Linked DNA regions of Homo sapiens: all the other regions are linked to region 2. The links are contacts of gene promoters, found by promoter capture Hi-C in human tissues and cell types (Jung and others, 2019). All regions are on one chromosome and are shown on one strand. Each heading gives the region's core, a stretch centred on a gene start or on the middle of the fragment in contact. The rest is flanking DNA. Distances are from core to core; before and after follow the strand shown.

Region 1 (4,525 bases), core at 774-3,273, 150 kb before region 2:
GCATCAGTGATGGCGAAAAGCTCCCCATCCATAGTTTTTACCCATAGTTTTTACAAATGTAGGTTGAGTATCCCAAATCCAAAAACCCCAAATCGGAAACTTTTTGAGTGCTGAGTTGATTCTCAAAGGAAATGTTCATTGAAGCATTTTGGATTTTAAATTTGGGATGTTCTACTCATGAGTATAGTGCAAATATTTCAAAATCCTCCCCCCAAAAACCCTTAAAATCCAAAACAGTTCTGGTCCCAAGTACTTTGGATAAGGGAACTTGACCTGTAGTGGTGATAGTGGTGGTTAAGTATCACCATCTTGGAGGTGTGTTTTCTGTCCAGTGCTAGGCCTGCCTGTAGCAGCAGAAACTGAGACCCCAGGACCTGGGGGCAGCTTTCTGGGCATCCACCACTGGAGTGTGTGTGTGTGTGTGTGTAAAGCAGCGCTGTCACAGTGTGGCACTGGCATCTTGCCACTTTGGGAGTCCACCAGTGGGAGGCAGCAGGCGGGCTGGGCAGTAGCACAGGCATCAATCCTGCTTACCCCACCCCCACGAAGAAGGCGATGGTGTCCATCAGAGACCTCAGAACCGCTGAGAGGCACTGTGGCTGGCCGGAGATGCTGTGATGGCGAGTGAGGTGTGGGCTGTTCTTGCAAGAATGTCACAGAACTGCAGGCCTGGCCTGGGGCTTTCAGGATGCACATGGCTTCAGTGTTTTTAGAGAAATGAATCCCACAGATGGGTTTTGACCACAGGCAGTCAGGGAGCTTCTCCCCATCCCCTATTTAACTGCGTCATGGGCCTCAGGAAAGGCAGAGCCAAGCACTCTTGGTCCAGCTTCTGTTGGTCAGTATTTCATCCAGAATGTGATGTGGCCACTTGAGTTGTGGCACATACAAACTAGAACCTGTGCAGGAAAGTCCCCTCCCTGGGGAAAGTATGACTGCCTGCCATGCTACCCTCCTGGAGGCCACGGGTATAATGACAGCAAAGATGCTGACTGCCACGCCTTCCAGTCCTAATTTTCTAAGATACTTATTTATTTATTATTTTATTTTATTTTTTTGAGACAGAGTCTCGCTCTGTCACCCAGGCTGGAGTGCAGTGGCGCGATCTCGGCTCACTGCAACCTCCACTTCCCAGGTTCAAGCGATTCTCCTGTCTCAGCCTCCCGAGTAGCTGGGACTACAGGCATCCACCACCACGCCTGGCTAATTTTTGTATTTTTAGTAGAGACGGGGTTTCATCATGTTGGCCAGGCTGGTCTCCAACTCCTGACCTCAAATGGTCCACCCACCTTGGCCTCCCAAGGTGCTGGGATAACAGGCGTGAGCCATCGTGCCCGGCCAGCTACTGATTTATTCTTCTGTGCCTTTCTTCATTGAATGAAGTGATCACAGTGGTTTTCTCATTCACTCTGTTAACACAGTGGACCGCAAGAATATATATTTTTTTCTAACATTAAAGAATTCCTGGCTTTCTTGGGATGAACCTTACCTTGGTAAGATACAATAGGTTTTCTAATAGATTCTGGGATTTGTTTCATGAATACTTTATTTAGAATAGATCTTTTAGGCTGTGCTTAGTGGTTCACATCTGTAGTACAAGCACACTTTTGGGAGGCTGAGGTGGGAAAATTGCTTGAAGCCAGGAGATTGAGACCAGCGTGAGCAACATAGCAACGCCCTATCTCTACAAAAAAGAAAATTTAATTTATAGAATAAATATGTTAACATATGTTGCCTTTACTTCTCCTTCCTCACATTGCATTCAGTAGGAAGGTCTTACCAGCCTTATGAAAGAGGAGCCACGCTTCCCCTTTTTCCTGTCCTCTGGAAAGGATCTGGTAAAGATAGGAATTCCAGAGCTGTCTAGGAGACATATGGGGTAGGACTTGGGCTGAGGTGAGGGGCAGAAAAGGAGTGAGCTCGGAGGTCATGGGTCGGGGGTTTCCAGACTGAGAGCTGGGGGGCTAAGATGGGAGCCTTGGGGATGGGGAAATGCTGAGGTCAGTCGTGGGCAGGTGTTTGAGGAGCCCTAGAGGGTGGCCAGGTGGCTGCTCGCTGGGCCTGGAACCCTTTATTTCTTTGCTTACGTTTGAGACCTCAAAGAAGCCCAGAGCTCTTTAACGAGGCCTCAGCCGTAAACCTGAACATGGGTGTGGACAGAGGACAGGTGGCTGTGAACAGCCAGGGAAAGGTGGGCACACCTGAGAGAAGACAAGAAGAGGACAGGTGGCGGAGGGTGGACAGAGAAAAACGACTCAGTGAAGGACCCGGAGAAAGTACCAGGGAGGAGGGTCTTGCGGGTAGAAGCGGGGAGGAGTGAAGAAGGCAGAGTTGCCCCGCAACAAAGAAGGGATCATCCGAGTCAGGGACTGTATCACGGCGCCCACCTGCCGGCTCGTTTGCTTGTGGTCTGTAGGGGACACTCCAAATCCAATCTTGAACACGGAGCTGGCAAACTTCTTCTGCCATGAGCCAGATAGTAAACGTGTCCAGCTTTGTGGGTCATAGGATCTTGGTGGCAGCTGGCCAAATCTGCTGTTGCAGCAGAAAAGCAGCCATGGGGAAAAGGCAGATGAATGGGTGTGGCTGGGCTCCCATGAAACCTCACTTAGGAAGATGGGCCGCAGCTGGCTTTGGCCCAGCCTGCCGTTTGCTGCCCTGGGTCTAGGTCTCCAGCTGGCAAACTGTTGCAACAGGTGTGCAGTCGACACTGTGACAGCCTCGTGCTGTTTCTGAAAACCATTGTGTAAAGTGGGAGAACAAGAGAACGCACTGTGTGGGAGTGTTGTGCTGTGTGAACGGGTTGAAGTGACCTGCTACCCTGCTTGTCCGGGCAAGACGACCTCTTCTCTGGCACAGGCTGTCTCTAGGTTGGCTAGCAACTCGCATGTACACGGCCCCGCCCATCTATCTCTCGGGCATCTGGAAAAATAAGTTGTGGCCGCTGGAGGGAACAGTCCTAGAGTTGGGGGTTGGAGAGGCCATTGAGAGAGGCCACCTGCTGAACCGGCCGAGGAGCAGTTCACAGTCAAGAGGGAAGAGAAGGGCACAAGGGGGGCTGAGAAGCCTCGAGGCCGTGGCCATTGCAGAGCCACCCCAGCCCCCGTGGCTGCTGCACTGGATCGCTGGGTTTTCCTGGGTCCCCAAGAGAAGGCTCTGTGTTCTTCTCTCACGCTCGCTGTTTCACTTGGGCTGGTTTCAGTGGATTTCTGCTCTTTGCAATTATAGGCACTCCAAGGCCAGGTGCAGTGGTTTATGCCTATAATCCCAGCACTTTGGGAGACCGAGGCAGGCAGACCACAAGAGGCCAGGAGTTCGAGACCAGCCTGGCCAACATGCCAAAACGCTGTCTGTACTAAAAATACAAAAATTAGCTGGGTCTGGTGGTGGGCACCTGTAATCCCAGCTACTTGGGAGGCTGAGACAGGAGAATCACTTAAGCCAGGGAAGCAAAGGTTGTAGTGAGCTGAGATCGTGCCACTGCACTCCAGCCTGGAAGACAGAGGAGGACTCTGTCTCTAAATAAATAAATAAATATATAAAAAAAGAGCCCCAAGTTGAGAGCCTCCCTCCCTCCTAGTCTTTCTTCCTGTACTCAACATGGGGAGAGGACCCTACTCTGGGGTGCATTTCAGTTTTGAGATCTTTGAGCTTTCACCCTCAACATGGTAAATGTGCAGCCTGTAGCAGGCACTTGGTAAGTAGCAACAGCACCATGATGGACAGTTGATTTCATGGATAGCTGGTTTTGGTTTTAGTTCTTGGACCATAATGGTGCTCTGTAGTGGGTTGGAGTCTCCCATCTGGAATCTCAAATATGACCTTATTTGGAAACTAGGATCTTTGCAGATGTAATTAGTTAAGATGAGGTCATCCTGGATTAAGGTGAACCCCAAATCCAACAACTGGTGTCCTGATAAGAAGAGGACAGACGCGCAGAAATGCACAGGGAGAAAGGCGATGTGAAGATGGAAGCAGAGACTGGAGGGAGGCAGCTACAAGCCAAGAAGCACCAAGGATGCCAGCAACCTCACAGCTGGAAGGGGCCAGGAACTGCCTGCCCTCAGGCCCTGCAGATGGAAACGACTCTGCTGATGCTGTGATTTTGGACTCTGGCCTCCTGAACTGTGAGGGAGTAACTTTCTGTTGTAATCTACCAGTTTGTGGGGCTTTGTTATGGCACCCACAGGAAACTAATGCAGGGCTTCAAACGTGTGTCTGAGTGGACTGATGAAATGTCTGTCCCTTGTGCTTGTTCCCAGAAGAAAGCGGACCGTGGCTGTGGCCTGTGTGTTTCTTCTGGCCTCCTAGGAAGACACTACACAGCCTGATGGGAGAGGTAACCTTGGGAATTGGAAGCCATCGAGTTGCAGCTGTGGAACAGCCACGGCAAGAGCAATATTCAGTCACCAGAAAAGCTGTTTCTGCTGTAGATGGCTTCTGAAAATCCAGACTCTTACGAGATTTTAAAACACTCCTCTTTGTAAATTAGAAAGGTGCTTTTGAAGTGTGAGTCATCCAGAAA
Region 2 (4,800 bases), core at 1,516-4,015:
GACTTATGAGGTCCCACCGATGGCCGGGCCTAGATCCAGGACTCAGGACGTTTAGGGCAGCTCAAACTTTTGAGGTTGTTTTCCTCCTGGGATCAGGTAGCAGAGAGGAACTGGAAATGTAAGTGGGAATCCACATAGTGGTGATTAAGGAAGAAAGCTGCCATAGAACCCAAATTCTCTCTTGTTAGCACAAGGGAGGTTTACCATGAGTTTCTGGAAGTTTCTAGAGCCATGGGCAGTGCTGAAGAGGATCTGGATCATCAATGAGTAGGTGCAGCTAAATATTAAAGATTATGGTTTCCTACTGAATGGGAGCTTTTATTTCTTTAAATCATGTTCTAAATGATTTCTTGCCCTTGCTGTTTAAATATAGCCATCCATTGGTATCCATGGGGGACTGATTCCAGGAACCTCCATGGATACCCAAATCCACAGAGGCCCCAATCCCTGAAGGAAGGTGGTGTAGTATTTGCACATAACCTATGCACATCCTTCTGTGTACTTCAAGCCATCTCTAGATTACTTATAATACCTAATACAGTGTAAATGCCATGTAAACAGTTGTTATACTGTGTCATTTAGAGAATGATGACAAGGAAAAACATCTGTACATGTTCAGTATATATGCAATCATCTACTTTAAAAAGCATTTTTGAACCACAGTTGGTTAAATCCATGGATGCAGAACCCATGGATACGAGGTCGACTGTAATAGAAACTTTCAATACCAAGGAATGCATCTGCCTAGCGATTTTGCGAAAAAGAGTGTATTTGTATTTGAAAGAAACCGTGGAGTGGAAACACCTAAAACGTGCTTGTTCAGTTAACCTCAGTTTGCTGAGCTGCTTGGAGCATGGGGTTGTAATCAAAGATTGTCTTCTTCGCAGCAGACAATGTTCTGGGAGAAATAGTCCTCCTTAGTGCTGAAGTTGCAGACTCTAACCAAGGGGGTGGCAGCAAGTATCCCCGGTCTCTGTAGGGGCTTGAGTCAACGCCTGCACTGTGCAGAGAGGATGAGGGCAGAGAATTGGATGCCGCTGGAGGGGCGTGTTGTCCTTCTACATGTCATGCAGGCAGCGCGGTTCTATACTCGGAGCCTCTGCTCAGCGTGTCTTCACCTAAGAACCCCATAATTCAGGTTCCATCCTTGTTCCCTACTCCAGTGCTCTGCAAGTGAGCCCTTTGGTTTAGAGATGGGTTGGGCTTCTTTATGGGAGAGGAAGGGAGCCCTGGAGCTGCAGAGGGGAGCAGGCATTCTCTCTGGGGTGCTGTCTCCTTTCTTCCCTAAATTGGAGGGAGATAATCCATGGAAAGGAGTTAATGATTTCTTTGCTCTTCAAACTTGGTTTGGAAGGATCTCTCAGTCAAAAAGAACCTTTCGGATGTCTCTTGATATTTCACATTAATGGACTTTTCATAAGGACCACATGATGGGAGAGCAGTGAGAAGTTTGGGGATGGCCAAAGCTGGGTTGTCATTTGAGCTCTGTTACTAACCCAGACTGGACAATGACGATGTCACTTACTCTCTCGGAACTTCTTTTCTTTTCTTCTTTTCTTTTCTTTTTTTCTTTTTTCTCTTCTCTTCTCTTCTCTTCTCTTCTCTTCTCTTCTTTTCTTTTCATTTCTTTTCTTTCTTTCCTTTTTCTCTTTTTTGGAGTCTCACTCTGTTGCCCAGGCTAGAGTGCAGTGGCGCCATCTCGGCTCACTGCAACCTCTGCCTCCTGGGTTCAAGCAATTGTCCTGCCTCAGCCTCCCAAATAGCTGGGACTACAAGCGCCTGCCACCATGCCTGGCTAATTTTTATATTTTTAGTAGAGATTTAGTAGGGGTTTCACCATGTTGGCCAGGCTGGTCTCCAACTCCTGACCTTGTGATCTGCCTGCCTTAGCCTCCCGAAGTGCTGAGATTACAGGCATAAGCCACCGTGCCCAGCCTGTTTCTTTCATCTGTAAAATGGGACCACAATTTCACCTAATAAAAGAAGACATCTTTCTATTTAAAAGGGCTTAGGGTGTTGATGTTTGTGATAAAGGAGAGAATGTATATTGAAGTGTTTTGAAATGTGCAAAGCTTTCTAGAAACAGAAGTTCTTACTCAAGTATTTTCCCGAAGCTTTGGCAAGATAACCATTTTTATTACCCCGTCTGTGCCTAGAATGGGCCTATAAGCGCCACAATCAGAATCATTAGATATAGAAATTAAGAGAAATGTAGCCTCCTTTTTTTTGCCGGTGAACAGAGCTTTGGTTAACAGAAAACCAAGGCGATTTTAATTGCTGGTTTTTCTATTTGAAGGGGGAAGTTATTAGTAGAAGTCTCAATTCAGAAACTTCAAGAAGAAATGGGAGGGTGTGGTGAGGGTAAGCGGGGGACTGCATTTCCTGTTTTCCTTTCAGATGGTGTTGGAAAACATTGCAGGAAAACCATGGATACCCACGAAGAAATTCCAAAATTTATTCTTTTTGACGCCAAGGGCCCAGCCCAAAAGGTGACGAGTAGGAGTGGTCAATTTTTTTTTTTAAGAGTTGGGGCTTGCAGGAGTCCAGCTAAACGCTTGTAGGGTGAAGACAGAATTCAGAGGGTGACATCAGCCTGAGCGGGGGCCAGAAGAAACAGAGTGGAGGAGTCTGGTTTCATTTACAGTTTTGGGTCAGTTCTGCAGTGAGGAGGGGGAGAGGAGGGGTCCGGGAGGGAGGAGGAGGAGGAGGAGGAGCTGGAGGAAGCCCTGACTGGTATCCCTGGCCCCAGTCCAGTTTGGAGCTCAGTCTTCCACCAAAGGCCGTTCAGTTCTCCTGGGCTCCAGCCTCCTGCAAGGACTGCAAGAGTTTTCCTCCGCAGCTCTGAGTCTCCACTTTTTTGGTGGAGAAAGGCTGCAAAAAGAAAAAGAGACGCAGTGAGTGGGAAAAGTATGCATCCTATTCAAACCTAATTGAATCGAGGAGCCCAGGGACACACGCCTTCAGGTTTGCTCAGGGGTAAGTGTGATTTCTCTTCTGTTTTTCCAGGTTTGGGGCTAGAAGGAAATGCTCTTAACCTGAAGTGATCCTTTCTAGGTAGCGTTAGTGGCTCTTACGTTCATGCTGATCGCCAGTTTTCTGTACATGTTTTAGGTCTCTGGAAGATTCCGCTGATTTTTCTTTCTCACTTTATGGCAATGGGATTTCCTTAAATTGGTTAAGGTCATGATTGCCTAAGAGTGTGAGCACTTTTCCACCGCGTGTCTGTGGCTGCTACACGCGCCCTGTGCATTCCGGGCGGCAGTGTGTTTCGGCCCATGATTTATTTAAGTTACTGCCGCCTTCTAAAACCCATTCGGGATCCGCTTTGTTTGCAGAAGCGTCTTTGCTGAGGACTAGCATAGCTCCCTGCCGGGCGGCTCCGCTGGGAGATGTTCTCTGAGCTCTCTGGGTGGTGACACTAGGTCAGGGTGCAACAACCTGCATGGGTTTTCTGCCCAGGGCCGCCCATGGGAAGGTCCTGGTGGAGCACATTTGCTGCTTTCACAAGATTGGAGTAACTCTGGTGCTCAGGATCAGGGCCAAGTAAAGGGTCGCTCAGTCATTGCCGTCAAGCTTTCGTCTTTCCAGGAACCTGAAGTCTCTATTGGAGACTTTGTCCCTTGGGGTTGCTTAAAGGAGTTGCAGGGGTCAGAGGAGAAGAAGGAATTGGGCATTTGGGCAGCATGCTGAGTGTCTAAGGCAGGGCCCCTGGGGCTGCAGGGCCAGCCCATGCTGCACAGAGGTGAGGCCAGTGCCGAGCTGGGAGGCCCCGAGGGCTGTTCTCTGGCCCGGAGGATGCAGGGTGGGGCTCGGGCCCTCTCTTGCTGAGGATGGACACGTTCGCTGACAGTGGCCAGCCTGTTTGGGGAACCTGTTTCAAGGGGCCTACTATGTTGGATAATGAACGGGTATTGAAGTATGGGTGGGGTCACTGGGAGGGACTAGGGAGTGGTTAAAGAAAAATCTGCTTCCACAGGAAGCCCCAGGAGCCAGTTTCGAGGCCGGTGCAGACCCCAGGAGCAAACCCCTCTGAGCACAGGGGAGTCTGCTGTGCTGGATGGGGAGGCAGGGCTGTGGCCCCGGCTGACTGGCTTCTCTCCCCACATACAGCTCACCCCGGCGAGGACCACAGGGTGCTAGAGCTGCAGGGTGCTCAGAGCTCACGGGGATGGTGGATGCTCAACCTGGGATCCCCCAGCTCCCCAGGGTCCCATTCTTAATGCTGTAAAAAACAACCGAAATGGCTTTAAAATCAAAGTTACATTGCTCCTAAGCAAAACTATATTGAAAACTGAGTGGGTGGCCGTTGATGACATTACTGGGACTTCTGAGGTTTTTGTTGGGCTAAAGATAATGGAAGAGATTTTTGGTCAGAAGCCACTGATGCAGTAGTTTCCTGGTTTTCAAAATGAGCAACCAGGGGCTCTGAGATGCGGAATTCCTTGCCCAGGCCAGGGAGCGAGTGCCTGAGATGGCAGTGAAATCCTTCCCCATTGAAGGAGAGCAGACAAGCCAGTGACGGAGGATCCCAAATAACTCACATCTCGTTGGGAAAACTGCTTTGGGCTCACTAAGACTCTACCAATGAACCGAGAAAGAAGGGAGGTGGACCGTGGGGCGGGGGCATCGGTTCCGTGACCGGAATACCGGGGCTGGCCGCCCTGCTCAGGCCACCTCCTGGGGGTGGAGGGCGCTGAAGGAGGGGACCTGTATGCTCTTCTTTCTGAAGTGGGCTTGTAGCTGAGGATGAAAGCCTGGGTGGGGAGGCGTGGCTTTTACAAAGATCAGGATGTAGGAACA
Region 3 (4,798 bases), core at 1,657-4,156, 180 kb after region 2:
TGTTTCTCTTCAAACTTTGAAATACTAATTTCAGCATTCATCAGTGGATCTTGCCTGCAACACATCCTATCATGTTGTTCTAATGGTGATTATATATTTCCTTCAATCCTTATACATTTACCAGCTGGAATTCTTTAAGAGTGGTCCCCAATTAATTAACTAATTTATTTATTAAATTATTTATATCAGCATAGACCCATGGATATAATTATTGCTATTACTCTTAATATTTGCTCAAATATTCGTCCATTGGGGGTTCTTTCAGGTTGGCGTCTGTGCCCAATGGACCTGTCCCTGTCCCTTTTTGATCCGTTTCTTATATCTGTCATCTTATCAGCTCTAGGCTCATCAACCAGTCCTGAAATCAACCACTTTCCCGGGATTATTTTGTTGGAGAACAGTATTTAGAACTCAAGATCTGGGTGCTAGATATGCTCATTGGCCCTGTGGTGCCACTGCTTTTAGTCTCTTCCCATTCAGTTCAAAGTTAGGGAATGTATGTTTGTGCACACATTCATGCATAAACACACATCTATATTTATTTTGCCTATCTATCTTCATCAGCACCATTGTCCCTCTATACTTATCTATCCATTAAAAATCCATGAGTTCATACTGATGCCTCCAATTCCAATAGAATAGCCGAAAGATGATTCTAGCTGTCACCTCTTTGTATTCGTAACTAATTTCTCTGACAGTAAGACATGTGGCTCCCTTTTTCTGTACTTTATTTACATATTTGTTCCCTACTCATAGTATGGTTTCAGAGTAGTGACTCATTCTCTTGTGAAAAACAAATGTACTAACTAGAGTACTCTATTTGTGTGTAGATTTTGTTCTTAGTCTTAATAAATTTTTTTGGCATTATCTAGGTTAGTTCTTTTCTTCCTCATCCCTTCCAGTGTGGTTATACTATTTATTTATAATAAAGTTAGGTACATTTACTTTTTCTCTGTGTATATTCCATTTTTGGGTCCCTGAACATTGTAGCTGATTTTAGAAAAATGTATATACATTAAAATTCACTTTGTGGTGTCCATTTTTATAGGTTTTGACAAACGCATGGAGTCATGTATTCACCACGCTAGCCCTTTATCCCAGGGCTATATTAACTCTCCTGCTTTCTGTGACAAAAAAGTAAGCAGGGGCTTTGATCATCTTGGCAACCCATAGTATGATACACTAGTCCCTTATATGAGTCATAATGTTAATTCCAGTTGGTGGGCAGAAAATGACAAGTACTCTGGATGCCTTCGTAAGACACATTTGTACCAGATAGTGGAAGATAAAACCTACAAAGAGTCAGGAGTCTCTCACATTGATGACATTTTAAGGGGGTCACTAGTCTAGGACATGCTGTGATCTCTTCCCAATAAAAAATTATTGTATCTCACACCCCCTACCACCATCAAAGAGGCAAAAAGCTATGTTGTTCTCTTTGGAATTGAAAGCCATTTACACTGTGCTGAACACTGCCTTGACCTATGTACTGAGGGATCTGCAAGGCTGCCAGTTTGGAGTAAAGCCCAGAACTAGAGTCGGCTCTGCAGCATGTTCACAGGTCAGGCTGCCCTACACTTCAGGCTATCTGACGCTGCAGATCCAAAGCTTGTGGTGGAAAAGAATGTGGAGTTGTGGTTGTTACAAGCCCAATAGGTGAGTTGCAGTGTCGACCACTGGAGTCCTGGAACAAAGCTGTGCCTTCTGTGGCTCACAGGTATTCCCCATTTGAAGAGAAGTTCCTGGCATGCTACTGGGCCTTAGTAGGGCCAGAGCATCTGGTCTTGGGGTATTAAGTGACTGTGGACAAACCATCCATTATGAAGTGGGAAGTGTCAGACTCACCAAGTCATCAGATTCAGTGAATGCTGTAGCAATCCATTGGATGATGGTAGGGGTACGTATGGGAGCAGGTCCAGAAGGCACCAAAATGCAAGAAGAAGTGGTCCAGATGCTTCTCAGTTCACTTTCATCCACCTCCCTGTGCCGGGACCTAATTTCATCAGGTCCTAATCACCTGATGCATAAAAAAAATAACTCAGACTTGCTTCTAAGATGGGTTGACTAGAAATGCTGGGGGAGCCAAGAATGGACTGTTTTCACACAGTGGCCATAATCAGGGTGCCCCTAAAGAATAACGGTTGAAGGGAATCATCCCAGTGGGTGAACTGCAGTAGACTTGGTCTGTCACTTGTCCTCTGACAACTGCCATTCTAGAGTTTACTGAATGCCTGTTTACTGACATGCAATTCTACAAACCATGGCTTTGGACCAGAAGACCTATTTTACGAATCTGCTGGTCTTACCATATATCACATCGCCAGGGAACATCTGGCATACCAGAATTATGCACCTATTAAAGGACCAAGTCTTCTACTTATTTAGGGGTGTTGTACCCCGGAATGCAACATATGGAGTAAGCTCACAGCTGATGCACGGGTTCCCCATTTGCTACAATATTTAGGCTTGTGCAACAAGGAGTTGAAGTAGAATTGCCTCTGGTCCTGTAGCTTCCATTAATCCACTGTGGAATTTGTGCTTCTCATTCTTATAACATCAGACCCTGCTGAAGCACAGGCCCCAATTTCCTGGGATAGAACTTCCTCCAGGGACATGGTGTTCACTGATTCAGAGCCTACGAGTACAGCTTGTTCATTTCGGTCTTGCTATGCCTGCAGATTCACAGTCAAGTAAGGAGGGGTAACTGAGTCTGTCATCAGGATCTAGAGGTGTTCCTGGGGTGGAGCCTACAGAATTCCCTGGAACATCTCTTAGTGATTCTAAAACAGTAACAGGCAATTGCAGCAATCATGGCCTGAAAAAAGAAAGACAGCCAAACACTGAGACCCATCAAGGGGGAAGGTTTAGGTCATCTAAGCTTTAGGTCTAGGCAAGCAACCTAGACCAGCTGAAATGTTAGCTGAAATAGAGGGGAGGATCTGGAAAGGATGGTGAAGGAATGAGGTGAAGAGTAACAACAGAGGCCTCTGGGTCCATTGCAGCAGTGGGGACTGTGCCTTCTTCCACTGACCCAGTGTGTTGAGTCTTTGGAAGACTTTGGTTCAACTACCACCTTGAATATTTTGTCTTGGTGGAACTGGATGTAATGTGAGGCAGGAGTGGATCTGAGGAGTTCAAAGGGTCCATGTATCATATACCTCCAGACCCCCTCCCTGCACCTTCCTGGCTTCCCTTAGATTGTAGTTCTGATGATGGGAAGCTCTGTGGGTGCTTCCAGTCACATTTGCTGACATCTCCGGCCTCAGGCATGAGCTTGCCTCCTTCACTCTCTGCCCCGGAGCCTCTCTGTTGCTATGGACCTGGCAGGTCCCCACTTGACAAACATATAGGGGCATCTAGAAGTGTGGGGTGGTAATGCCCCTGGGGGCACCCAATGTAGTATGGGGGCTCATAGTAAGTGTGTTCCCTTTGGGTCCTCAGGAGGCCAATTCTGGAGGCATTCTGCAGGCTCCTCCTAGGTCCAGGTGGGACTGAGCCCCTGTTGCCCACAACAACTTTATAGTGCACTTTTCATAATGGACTGTTGGCCCATTATGGGCTTTTCCTCCTTCCTTTACTCTCCCTGATCCCTTACTTCTATTCTCTGGGATTACATTTTAAATAAAATACCTGCACACAAGTCCTTGGCTAAAACTCTGCTTTCATGGCAGTGGGGTGGAGAGAAACCCAGGCTCAGACAACCTCTTTTCCAAGGTAGGTTAATAAGCCACCCATGTAATGTTGCCAGAAAGGACAGTAGCAATGTTGCAGCCAAGGTTGCACTGGAGATGGATTAATAGGACCAGGCATTGGGAATGCTTTCTCGAGTTTCTTGCTCACTTCTATTCAATGCATCCTCTGGTGAACATATTAGTCCCGCAACTAGTATCAATCAAGTGACTCCTGGCACACTAGACTCAATCTCTCTCTTGATCTCCAGCATGCACCCCCCGCCTACCTGACATATGCATTTAGACATGTTCATGGCCAAAACCTAATGTGTTGCCTTACACACTTGTCTCCATTGCTGTTGGTGTTGCCACACTTAGCCTCATGATGTGGAGAGATCCTTGATTTCTTCTTCTTCTTCCTGACAACTAATAATCAATTCCAGCTCTTAAAGGTCTCTACAACCCCTCCGCATCTTTAATTCCACTTGTGCTTGTCCCAGTCCAGACCTGCCCCATCTTTCTTTTTTTCTTTTTTTTTTGAGATGGAATCTCACTCTGTTGCCCAGGTTGGAGTGCAGTGGCACGATCTCAGCTCACTGAAACCTCCGCCTCCCGGGTTCAAGTGTTTCTCCTGCCTCAGCCTCCTGAGTAACTGGGATTACAGGTGCACACCATCATGCCTGGATACTTTTTGTATTTTTAGTAGAGACGGGGTTTCACCATGTTGATCAGGCTGGTCTCAAACTCCTGACCTCATGATCCTCCCTCCTTGGCCCATCTTTCTTAGTGCGTAACAGTTATTTCAGCAATGTGCCTGCCTGGGGCATCCTCTCTTTCCTTCTCTTGTCAAACTCACTCTCCATTATTACCCAAATTATTGTTCTAAAACATTTCAATCATTCATTCACTCAACAAATATGTGTTGGTTTTCCATCTCCTCCAACAGCAGCAAAAAGAGACAAAATCTAAACTCCTTGGCTTAGTTTTCTAGAAGGTTCCAAAGCTGACTCATGTCTGTTCCTTTGGCACTTGTTTTCAACCTTCCTTGCTGTGACTCCCTTGAGCCATGTGGTGACAACTAGGCCTTTTCTGTTTTTCAAGTGCCAGTATTTGGGTCAGTAACCCCA

Evidence for each region. The method cuts DNA at HindIII sites, captures the fragments that hold promoters and counts their contacts. A contact is called where the count stands out against the background at its distance.
Region 1: a fragment that was not itself captured here is called in contact with the fragment with the promoter of COL6A3 in region 2 in 1 of the 25 tissues and cell types used here (bladder).
Region 3: a contact is called between a fragment that was not itself captured here and the fragment with the promoter of COL6A3 in region 2, in 1 of the 25 tissues and cell types used here (aorta).

What each region holds. Positions count from the first base shown.
Region 1 is chr2:237,557,458-237,561,982 of GRCh38, reverse strand. No RefSeq gene overlaps it. Among named protein-coding and RNA genes, the nearest start is that of PRLH, 6.9 kb to the left of the region's middle. The HindIII fragment of the contact is 5,430 bases long and covers 1-4,525 here.
Region 2 is chr2:237,412,129-237,416,928 of GRCh38, reverse strand. COL6A3 (collagen type VI alpha 3 chain) reads left to right here and starts at 2,765. Exons shown (of 44, transcript NM_004369.4): 1 at 2,765-2,976. The HindIII fragment of the contact is 4,662 bases long and covers 1-4,513 here.
Region 3 is chr2:237,232,327-237,237,124 of GRCh38, reverse strand. LOC105373953 (a long non-coding RNA gene) reads right to left here. Exons shown (of 6, transcript XR_924035.3): 4 at 1,846-2,017. Among named protein-coding and RNA genes, the nearest start is that of COPS8, 150 kb to the right of the region's middle. The HindIII fragment of the contact is 4,205 bases long and covers 804-4,798 here.